Linked DNA regions of Homo sapiens: regions 1, 3 and 4 are each linked to region 2. The links are contacts of gene promoters, found by promoter capture Hi-C in human tissues and cell types (Jung and others, 2019). All regions are on one chromosome and are shown on one strand. The core of a region is centred on a gene start or on the middle of the fragment in contact, and the rest is flanking DNA. Distances in the headings are between cores, read along the strand shown. Region 1 overlaps LINC01727 (long intergenic non-protein coding RNA 1727). Region 2 holds the start of NKX2-2 (NK2 homeobox 2). Region 3 overlaps LINC01727 (long intergenic non-protein coding RNA 1727). Region 4 overlaps LOC105372558 (a long non-coding RNA gene).

Region 1 (2,700 bases), core at 144-2,643, 83 kb after region 2:
TCATGTACAACTTCTCCTCCAAAGTTGGTAATAGTCTCTTTTTAAAAAACTTTTGCTTGTTATTAAAAGAAAATCACTCATTCATTTTCAAGCTTTCTGCTGGGATCCTGTTTCTTCTCAAGATGATGCAGGGCAGGGAAGGTCCAAAATTGAGACTTAGCATGAGAGGGTTCTTTGCTTCACCCAGGGAAGAATTCAAGGTCAGTGGTGAGAGAAAGCAACTTTTAACAAGCAGTGCCTGGCTCATAGGCAGTGTGCCCAGCATCAGCAGTGTACGCTGGCAACTGTATTTATACCACTTTGAATCACATGCTAATTAAGAGGTGGGTTATTGAGAAGTTTCTGGAAAAGAGGCGGGAAGTTTCAGGAACCATTTAAGTTAACTTCCAGGCTGTTGCCATGGCTTGTTGCCATGGCGTTTACAAGCTGCCATGGCACTAGTGGAAGTGTCTTCATGGTAATGAGCAGTTAGGCCAACTGGAGGTTGCTTTCATTGCTGTCTGCTGGTTTTGGGTGGCTTCTTCCCTGCATCCTGTTCTGACTAGATCCTGCTTCCATCAGCGGGGTTGTGACTCAAAAATAAGTCCTGCCAGTCTCCTGCCTCAAGGACATTCAAGTATTTTGGGAGCAGTTTCATCATCTTGATGACACCCCTCCTAGATGTCCCCGTCCTCTTGTCCCAAGATTGCAGGCCTCTCTCCTGACCTGCTCGGCCACCCTAGAAGCTCCCTGAACTGCCATCTGGTTCTTTCTGCTTTTCTTTTGGGATGGATCTCACCTCAAAAGAATGTGCTCTGGATCTCACATCTTTCTTTCTTGATTTACTGCCTCCACCCCTGCAATTTCCTTGCCTCTTTTCAATTTCCGCTCCTTTAAATCATTTTAGAAGGGTTTGAGGAAGAAATAGTGATCAATACTTGCATTCGGTCTCCAGGTTTAACCTGAAGTTCCCCATATTTTAAGACCAGAAAAAAAAATAAAGATTTTTTTCCATTTGGGTAGAAAAACCTATATTTTCAAATTCCACTACTTGAATTATTCTGTGCCTTTTCTTCATTGTGTGGGTGTACCATTCACCAGCAACTTGTAAAATCCATGTAGGGAAGCACCTCTCAAGTTGCTTTCTGCAAAAGTGTACCCAAAAGAGACACAAAAGTTTGGCCTCAAAAGTTTGAAAATGTCTTTATTTTATCCTTGTGCTTGTCGACATCTTGCTGAATACAGAATTTCAGGTTGGAAACACTTTTTTCTAGCTTTGGTGGTGTTGTTGAGAAGTCCAACAACAAAGGATTCTTAATCCTTTGTATACACAATTTTATTTTCTTTATGGAAATGTTTAGAGCCTTCTCTTTGTTTCCAATACTCTAAAATTCCCAAATAATAAGCCTTGGTATAAATCTATTTTCACCTATTTTGAAGAATATTTGATATGGGATTGCAACCTGGAGACTCATGTCTTTCAGTTCTGGTAAACCTTATTGAGTTAATTTATTTACTTTAAAAAAGAATATTCTCCTCTCTGTGTTTACATTCTTGAACTTTCATTGCTGGTTATGGACCCTCCTGGACTGATCTTCTAATTTTAAAGGTATTTTAAAATTTAAATTCTAACTCTTTTATTTTTTTTTAGAAGAGCTATACTTCCCAAACTTCTTCTGAGTTTTTTTCTACTATCATATTTTTAATTATTTTTTTTAAGAGACAGAGGCTTGCTATGCTACCCAGGCTGGAGTGCAGTGGCTATTCACAGGTGGGATCACATAGGGCACTGCAGCCTTGAAATCCTGGACTCAAGTGGTCCTCCTGGCTCAGTCTCCTCAGTAGCTGGGACTACAGGCAAGTACCACCATGCCCAGCATATTTTTAAATTCTTAAGAGCTCATTTTTTGTTCTCTGATCGTTCCCTTTCTACATAATGTTGTTTTAGATTCATTGATATAATAGCTTCATTTGATTTCTCTGAAAATATTAAAGATACTTTTTTGGTATAATTTTTGTCTTTCTACATGGGCTCTGTTTCCTCTAATTTACTTTGATCTGTTTTTTTCTTAGGGGGGATCTACTTCATGCTAGAGCTTTTCTTACATGTCTGGGGATCCTTAGCTGTCTGCTGAAATTTAAAAGTGGAGCATTGAAAAGTAGATTGGAAATGTTGAGCATATAGTTAAGGCTTATCACTTATGGGTTCCACTGTGTGGTAATCTTTTCGGGTCATCATAGGAGAACTCTTGATGTCAGGATCTAGGTCCTTTCTCTTGTGTTGGTCAAATTTCCCAGAGAATAAGCTTCTCATTTCCTTTTGGGCAGTATATTTATTGGCCAGTGAGTCTGGGGGTAAATAGGTTTGAGGGTTCCAATATTCAGTATGGAAATTCCATAAAATGAACTATTTGTAGTATGGACACCTGTCCTCCCATGTGCCTGGTATCCCCCAGGCCAGAAACGTTCTACTTTATTTCCAAGAGAGTCAAGCTCAGTCTTCTAACACAGTGAGGGACATGCAGCTCTCTGGAAGTGTATCTTCCTCCATAGGTTTGCATCCAATTCCCCTATGTTCAATTCAGGCCCAGCTGGGCTCCCATTCTGTAGAGTAGGTACCTCCAGAATTGTAGACTTCATGGGTTCTGAGGTTTTGCTTCTGGGCACTCCCATGACCAGGTTAGAATTATCTTTCTCAGGTGTGCATAAGTCAGGAAGTCT
Region 2 (2,700 bases), core at 179-2,678:
CTCTACGCCTGACGAAGACGTCGGGACCTCCCAGGGTAAAGAGGGAAATCCGTAGGAGTGGGGGCTAGGGGCTCGCCTTTCAAGGGGCTCACATAGTGTGGGTGAGAATTTGGGGGGGGAAGTGGCACTGAAGATCATCGCGGGTTAAGGGCTCCGGCGCCCTTAAGCGGTTTCCTCTCCGGCGAGACGTGGGCAGATTTTTAAAAGAAATACCCCACAATCCCAGCATTGATCGGCTCGGCCATTTAAGGCAGGTTTTTGGGGGCTTTCGTTTCTGCTTTCGGGCCTTCTAGACACCCCCTGCACTGCACAAAGCGTCCTCTATGATCGCGCAGGGGGCAGGGTGAGCTATTTATACCCGGGCCACCCGAAGCCTCCCCACCCTCCACCCGTACCCGGACGAGGCTCGCTGGCTACCTCCAGGGCGCCAGGCCAGTCCCTCCCAGCGGCCGGAGTCCGGGGGCTGCGGCTGGAGCCATCGGTCCGGGTTGACATCATATACCAGCCCCTGGGAGGTATAGCCCTTCTCCCTCTTTCTCCTTAACTTCTCGCATTGAAAAAAATTTTGGAGACCAAGTTCTTTCCCGGAACTAAGGAGGCTTGAAGAGGAGGGCAGAGGACATCCTATACAGGTGTTAAAAATCTTTCTACGGATCCGAGTGAGGGGGTCCGGGCTTACATGGCCCCTTCCCCTTTCACTCCCAGCGTCCAACCCGGGCTGCGGCTGCAGGAATGGAGGGGACCACGGCCTCGGCAGCCAAGTTTTGCTACTTACGGGAGTACTGAAGGCCCTCGGTGCTGGCCAGCCAGCGCGTGTACGGGTTGTCGCTGCTGTCGTAGAAGGGGTTCTTCAGGGGCAGGCTCTGCACCGCGTCCAGGGCGCCCTGCCCCAGCGGCCCGGCCCTCTTGGCTGGCTCGGGCCCCTCGTTCTCTTCCTCCGGACCTTCGGCCACAGAGCCCTCCTCATCGTTGGTGTCCGGCAGGTCTAAGATGTCCTTGACCGAAAACCCCGTCTTTGTGTTGGTCAGCGACATGGTTCGAGACCCCAAAATTTATGTCGCAAAGTTGTAGCTTCACTTGGTCAATTCGTGGCGCTCCCCTGCCCCGGCGGGCGGGGGAGGGGGGAGTTGGGGGGAGGGACTGGGGGAGGGGAGGGGGGAATTGGCTTTAATTATTGGGATAATTATTATTTTTAAAAAGAGAAAGAAACTGGGGATGGGGAGGAAAAAAATGAAGCCCAACCCAGTGCCTCTCTCTGTCTTCTTTGAAAGCACGCGGAAATGGACGCAGGAAGCCGGGCGGCCTGCGCGCCGAGCGCCGCGGGCCCCGGCCTTAGTTTCTAACTCCAGGAGGGGTGCCAAGGCGGCGTCAGCTCGGGCTCCGGCGGCCGCTCGGCGCGCGGTGGCGGCTGGTGGCGAGGAAAAAATGGGCCATTGCCCGAGCGATCAGTCCATATAAGGCTGGGCTCCACTCACGAACCTGGGGAGGCGGGGAGAGGGGGAGAAAGAGAGGGAGGGAGGGAAAGAAAGAGGGAGGGAGGGGGAGCGAGAGAGGGAGCGGGAGAAGGGTGGAAAAAAGGGGGAAGAGACATTAAAAACGCAAAGGTTGGCCACGTGTGGGCGGGTCTTGGGAGTCAAGTGGATGAAGACAGTATTTGCAGATGTGAAATTGTGGGTTTTGGGGAGCTCCGCGCTCCCAGCCAACGGCCCTCTAGAGCAAGATGAGAGGTGTAACGTGTCAATTAATTGCAAAGACGGGGCGAGCCTTTTTTTTTTTAAACCCAGTATTTACATACAAAGGGCCACCGCGTCGCTCGCGAGTCCACACACTTGAAAGGGCCGTTTTAACAAATTGCATCTTAAAAAAGGTGGGGGTGGGGAGGAGGAGGGGAGAAAACAAAACAGAAACCAGGAGGAGGGAAAAAATCCTCTTTAACATTCACCGGTTCCTACCTCCCCGCCCCCGCGCGCCCACCCCCGGCAAGCCGGAAAATTGGCGATTTGTGGCGCCTTTGGAAAAGGGGGAGGGGGCGAAGGCCGAGCTGCGGAAATCTCTCCTTTCCATCGTTGGTGGTTGCCTAAACAAGATCCGGTTCAAATGGCAAGAGCCCAACTTCTGTAAGCCTCCTAGGTCAATATTTTGGTTGAGGCTTAAGGATGAGTGCTAGAAATGACAAGGCAAGTAATTGATTCCAGTTAACCGCGAGAGAGCCCAAAACCCAGGAGAGAGCTCCGCTCCGGGCCGGCCAGAGCCACCACCAAGCGACCCGCCCCCTTCCAGCCGCCCTTTATTTGCTAAAGACTCATTTATTTCCTTCACTCCGCCTCCCCCCACCTCCCACCCCCAACCCCCCGCCTCCACCTCTCTGCGGCCAAGGAGGACGCGCAGTTCACTTTCTGCTTTGCGGGCGGTCCCGGGGAGGGCGGGGTAAGAGTGAGGAGCTCCAACTTCGTCTGGGGTCGGACCCTGGCCCTGCTGCCTCTGGGCTCTGCGGGCCTCTTTCCCCGGGTGGAGGAAAGGGCAGACGGCCCTGCTCTTTCCTGCCCTCTATTATCCCTCCCTCTCCGGCCCCCTCCCTCTCCAGCCTCTGGCTAGAGGTGGAGCAGCGGGAAGGCGGCGGGGCGGGATTGCGGGGGTGGGGGTGGGGGTTGTGTCTCCAGCCTGGGTGAAGACCCAGAAAGCTGCGGGGGAGGGGGGTCG
Region 3 (2,700 bases), core at 12-2,511, 100 kb after region 2:
TGAACAGGATTCGAATGTCAGTTGTCTTAGGGGAAAAAAGATTTATTGGTTGGTAAATATTGAGAAAGAAAAGCTGATAAAGAACAGTTTCAGCTGCGGCTTCTGCCCGGAGCAGGAGAACAGGCCTGTGTTGTATTTTGGGGCCCTGGGAAGGCAAAAAATTGTGAATGTCTTTCTTTGTTGGTGGGTGTAAAAGTGGAGCCCGCTACAAATAATTTCTTATTTCTTGTCGCATAGATTTTAAATTATGTAGCTTCCCTACCTTGTTAAGTATTAAAGCGGTCTTGTTTAAGGAAGAGACACTTAAATAATGAAGCTTATGTATCTTGTTTTCAGACATCAATATCTGGCTTTGAGTGGCACAAAGAAATAAAGGAATGTGGATTCAGACCTCACTGGGATGCTTGGCAATTCTAATTCTACCCCAGACTGCAAATGGACACACAACTGTTGTGACTTTTGTTGAAGAGGAGAAGGATGGGTGAGCATGTGACGTTGGGAAATTGTATTTTCTTCTTCGAGTTCTTCTGTTTCCGAATATTTAATCCTACTGTTTTCTTCTTTAGTGAAGGTCTCTTTAGTCAATAATCTCTTTGCTGAAATTGCTTCGGGCAGCACAGAAGCTGGATTCAGAAGCACACAGGTCTGGGGATGCAGGCTTCGGCCAGCCTGATGCAAGGAAAGACTGCCATCTCGTGGTCAGCTCAATCCTGGCACCTTGGTGAGGGACCAGGCTGCAGAAAACCAGGCTTGGGGAGGAAACGGTGCTGCAAACTGGATTTCTGCCGGACAGTGTGGATGCCCTTAGAAAACACCCAGAAAAGAGCTGAGTGCCCCCCAAGGTAGGCTTCAGTGAATCCTCTGCAGGTGTGTTGTCATCCCTTGAGCCAAACACATGCTTCACACACACGCTGCAGGCTGCGTGAAAATGAGGTAGAAATGTGGGGAAAACATAATCCCATGGAGAGAACAAAGAGCTGAACACGTAAATGCCTCCGGCGTGCCTGGCAGAGAGAACACTCAGGCTGAGAGAAGGGACAGTGACTTGTACCAAAGGTAGGCAAGTAGCCTCTGGGGTCTCAATCAGCAGGGCATCTGGTCAACCCTTCAGACAAAGTCAGGTCTGAGCAGGCAAGATCCATGGATCTGATTTATTAATATTTTTACAATTAAATAGAATCTGATTGTAAAACTGTTACATGTGTTGTAAGAAAAAAAGAAAAAAAGGAAGGATATAGAAATGTACAAAGAAGGAAATAAAAGACTGGAAGCGTCCTCACCTTAGGGACCCATTATTAACGCTTAGGTGGCCAATCTTCCAGACATCTTGCTACGAATATATTCAAACGGGAATTAAAAATGTACTTTTACACAAGTGCAATCAGACCTTGTACTCCTCTATCCCATAACCTACTTTTTCATTCAACACTATGACAGAAGCGTCTTTCCAGGTCCATAAATAAAGGTAGGCCTCATCGTTTTTTATCAATTACATAAAGCTAATGGTATATAATACTGATTTCATACCTGCTATATGCCAGGCACATACATGGTCTTGCATAATCTCATAATGACTCTACAGAACGGGAGTTTGTATTATGCCCATTAAGCAGATGAACAGGCTGTGGCACAAGAAAATTGATCAGCACTGCCAGGGTATCTGACCTCAGAGCCCAGGATCTTGACTAGTAGGCTAGAAATGAACATAATTTACTTACCAGTTTTCCAGTGATGGACATTAAGCCATTTCCTACTTTTCTGGTATAAAAAATAAGATTGCAGTGAAACTTTAGGGCATATACATCTTTGCACGTTAGTGAGTTCTCTCTAAGTTAACCTGAAAGCGGTGGGCTGTGGAGTTTGTGGGTCAAAGTGTATGCTCGATTTATGCTTTACTATGTGCCCGACTTCCCTCCAGGCAGCATGTGCCAGCTCACACTCCCAACAGCTGCGCAGGAGAATTTCCAGTGCCCCACGACCTTGTCAATACTAGGCTTCCTCATCAGTTTTTTCTCTCCTTTATTTTTCTTTAGGAAAAAAAAAACAGCCTTTGAAAAAAATTGTACGAACAAGTGCAATGTGTGCTTGTAAGTGCTTCACCAAATGTAGATCCACCCGGTGTTAACCTTTTGCCACATCTGCTCTCTATTAGTTTTTATCACACTTTGGAATTATCTATAGACATCATAACACTTGATGCCTAAATGCTTTGGTGTGTGTCTCTTAAGAACAAAGACACACCCTTACCTAAGCATAATATAATTGGTACACTTGGGAATTGCTAAAATACATTGCTAAAATACAGTTTTCTAATACAGAATCTATATCAAGTCATTGAATAAACACACTTCTTGACTTAAAATGAGATTACATCCCATAAACCCATAATAAGTTGAAAAAATGTAAGTAAAAATGCATTTAATACACTAAATCTGCTGAATATTATAACAATTTTGCCTACATTAAATGTGCTCAGAACACTTACATTAGCCTACGGTTGGAAAAAATTATCCAACACAAAGCCTATTTTATAATAAAGTGTTAGATATCACATGTAATGTATGGAATACTGTACTGAAAGTGAAAAACAGAATGGTTTTATGGGTTCTCACAATACGGTTTCCACTGAATGCCTATCACTTTTGCACCATTGTAAAACTGAAGAATTGTAAGTTGAACAATTGTAAGTTGGGGACTGTC
Region 4 (2,700 bases), core at 63-2,562, 76 kb before region 2:
GTATAGAATTTATTTCTTGGATATGCCTGCTTTTGTTGAGTGTGTAAATGGCCATTTCAGTTTAGTGGGTTCTTTGACTTAGATTAACTACATATATCTTTGTGACCATTTTTAGTTTGAGATAAGTTGGACTCCATGTTCAATACTAATTTTCAAGGCCTGAATGATTGGGTTGGCAAAACTGAAGAATCAAATATTACTCATTTTTCACCACTTAATGCTATGCTATGTGATTAATTTTTGCATTCTGTAAAGCTTGTCCTATACCAGGCTCTTGTGTCATAAATTCCATTTGTAGTTATTTGTTTTTAAAAGATTAGTATTCTATTCTTTTGTTTCTATACTACTGTGCCTTTTTAAATCCTTTGATACATGTTTCCTACATAGGTTTTTGTTATGTGTTAGATAGTTTGCTTTCATTTTCAAGGCATTATTCAAGTGTCTTTCACTGCAGAAATCCTTTTTATTCCATTTCTCTGCTTGTCAGAATTCCAAACCAGAAATTTCTGAGAGAGCAACAGGAATTTCACACTTAGTTCAAGTTCATGAGGTTGAGAGATTTCTTTGCTAGACATATTTGGCAGAAATAAAAATTGTTAATATAGAAACCTCTCAAAAATTAAAAATGGGAAAGTAACAATCATTGATCCCGCTTTTCTGGAAAATGTTGGACAAAATTTTACTTAAAACAGGGGCAATAATTTTCAAGTCATGAGTGATATTGGCTTCTTGTAATTAAAACTAAAAATTCAGTAGTAAAATGCAAATAAATCATAATGTCAGCATTTACATGGATTAGATTTGTTTATTAAGTCAAATGGAATTATATCAGTAAGCTCTGAACTCAGAAAAATTTAAGCAATTACTGTACAATCCTGACAGAACCTATACTATAACATGACCAATGTAATCATTATAATCTGTCAAAATCACATTTAGTGTACCTACATGTTGATTATTGAAAGAGAACTATATCTTGTTCCTTATGAAAATAAACACAATACTAATATGATGATGAAATAATGCTATAAAAGTAAAATCATGATGTTCAGACATAATTTCCCCAAAACAGGTATCTAAAATGTTAAACTTTAATCATCCTGTTGGCACAGTTGGCAGCATGTCAGTCTTATAAAATGTTAAACTTTAATACAATCTGATGATCCTCCGATGTTACTATTTAATGTTGTAGTTTATGCTTATGTTCATAAGAAAATATGGCAATGTCAAATATTGTTCTCATTTACCATTAGAATGTTTCTGTCATCCTTCAAGAGGTCTGAATAGATCATGGAACCATGTTCAAGGGCTGCTGTATTAGTAAGTAGTTACTTATTTCTCTGGGTCAGTGAATCAGATTTTAGCATGTGATTGCATGGCATCTTAAAGCATTTGGAAAGGCTGGAATTAGGAGTGGCATGATGTTTTCATCTTTCTAATACGTAGAATCTGTACTAAAGATATAAAGATATAATAGCTAATTTTGTGTATCAACTTGACCAAGCCATGGTGCCCAGTTGTTTAGTCTAATACCAGTCTAGGTGTTGCTGTGAAGGTACTGTTTAAACTGATTAACACTTAAATCAGTAGGCTTTGAGCTAGCATATTACTCTCCATAATGTACGTGGGCCTTGTCCAATCAGTTACAGACATTATGAGAAAAGAGCGAGGTCCCCAGAGGAAGGAGTTCTGTCTCCAGCCTGGTCTGCAGATTTGAGACTTTCCAGCTCCACAATCACATGAGTCAATTCATATATATATATATATCCTTTTGGTTCTGTTTCTCTGGAGAACCCTGACTAACTGGTAATTAAAAAATTAATACAAATGCTCCTTGACTTATGATGGGGTTATGTCCCAATAAACTCACCATTAGTTGAAAATATCATAAGTGTAAAATGCATTTAATACCCTGATAAACCCATCAGAATAGTTTTGAAAAATGTAAGTTGGCCAGGTGAGGTGGCTCACACCTGTAATCCCAGCACTTTGGGTGGCTGAGGCGGGTGGATCACCTGAGGTCAGGAGTTCCAAACCAGTCTGGGCAACATGGCAAAACCCTTTCTCTACTAAAAATACAAAAATTAGCCAGGTGTGGTGGCACACATGTGTAATCCCAGCTACTTGGGAGGCTGAGACAGGAGAGGATCGCTTGAACCTGGGAGGCCGAGGCTGCAGTGAGCTGAGATTGTGCCACTGCACTCCAGTCTGGGCAACAGAGCAAGACTCCATCTCAAAAAAAAAAAAAAAAGAAAAAAAGAAAAAAGTAAATCAAACCATCACAAGCCAAGATGCTATATTCTAAAATATAAAACACCCCAACCTCATTATGTGACATTATCTTCTCAATAGTTTTCCTCTAAACTCTGCTCAGCCTGCCTGCCTTTCTTTTCTTTTCTTTTTCTTTCTTTCTTTCTTTCTTTTTCTTTTTTTTTGTGAGACAGGTTCTCACTTTATTGCCCTTTATTGGAGTGAAGTGGTGCAGTCATAGCTCCCTACAGTCTCAGACTCCTGGGTTCAAGCACTCCTCCTGTCTCAGCCTCCTGAATAGCTGGGAATACAGGTGCATGCCACTACACCTGGCTCATTAAAACAAAATTATTTTTGTAGAGATGAGAGCTAACTATGTTGCCCAGGTTAGTCTTGAGCTCCTGGCCTCCAGTGATCCTCCTGCCTTGGCCTCCAAAGTGTTGGGATTAT

The links. The method cuts DNA at HindIII sites, captures the fragments that hold promoters and counts their contacts. A contact is called where the count stands out against the background at its distance.
Region 1: a fragment that was not itself captured here is called in contact with the fragment with the promoter of NKX2-2 in region 2 in 2 of the 25 tissues and cell types used here (bladder and dorsolateral prefrontal cortex).
Region 3: a fragment that was not itself captured here is called in contact with the fragment with the promoter of NKX2-2 in region 2 in 4 of the 25 tissues and cell types used here (dorsolateral prefrontal cortex, hippocampus, lymphoblastoid cells and 1 more).
Region 4: a contact is called between a fragment that was not itself captured here and the fragment with the promoter of NKX2-2 in region 2, in 2 of the 25 tissues and cell types used here (dorsolateral prefrontal cortex and thymus).

What each region holds. Positions count from the first base shown.
Region 1 is chr20:21,595,536-21,598,235 of GRCh38, forward strand. The region is part of intron 1 of LINC01727 (long intergenic non-protein coding RNA 1727); the gene reads left to right. Among named protein-coding and RNA genes, the nearest start is that of LINC01727, 27 kb to the left of the region's middle. The HindIII fragment of the contact is 3,254 bases long and covers 1-2,700 here.
Region 2 is chr20:21,512,636-21,515,335 of GRCh38, forward strand. NKX2-2 (NK2 homeobox 2) reads right to left here and starts at 1,429. Exons shown (of 2, transcript NM_002509.4): 1 at 776-1,429. The coding sequence starts at 1,034. The HindIII fragment of the contact is 15,862 bases long and covers 1-2,700 here.
Region 3 is chr20:21,615,047-21,617,746 of GRCh38, forward strand. It overlaps LINC01727 (long intergenic non-protein coding RNA 1727), which reads left to right. Exons shown (of 4, transcript NR_109880.1): 3 at 337-481; 4 at 616-676. All of the region lies in intron 3 of LINC01726 (long intergenic non-protein coding RNA 1726), which reads right to left. Among named protein-coding and RNA genes, the nearest start is that of LINC01727, 46 kb to the left of the region's middle. The HindIII fragment of the contact is 3,224 bases long and covers 1-2,700 here.
Region 4 is chr20:21,436,663-21,439,362 of GRCh38, forward strand. LOC105372558 (a long non-coding RNA gene) reads left to right here. Exons shown (of 4, transcript XR_001754528.1): 3 at 1,254-1,320. Among named protein-coding and RNA genes, the nearest start is that of NKX2-4, 40 kb to the left of the region's middle. The HindIII fragment of the contact is 8,149 bases long and covers 1-2,700 here.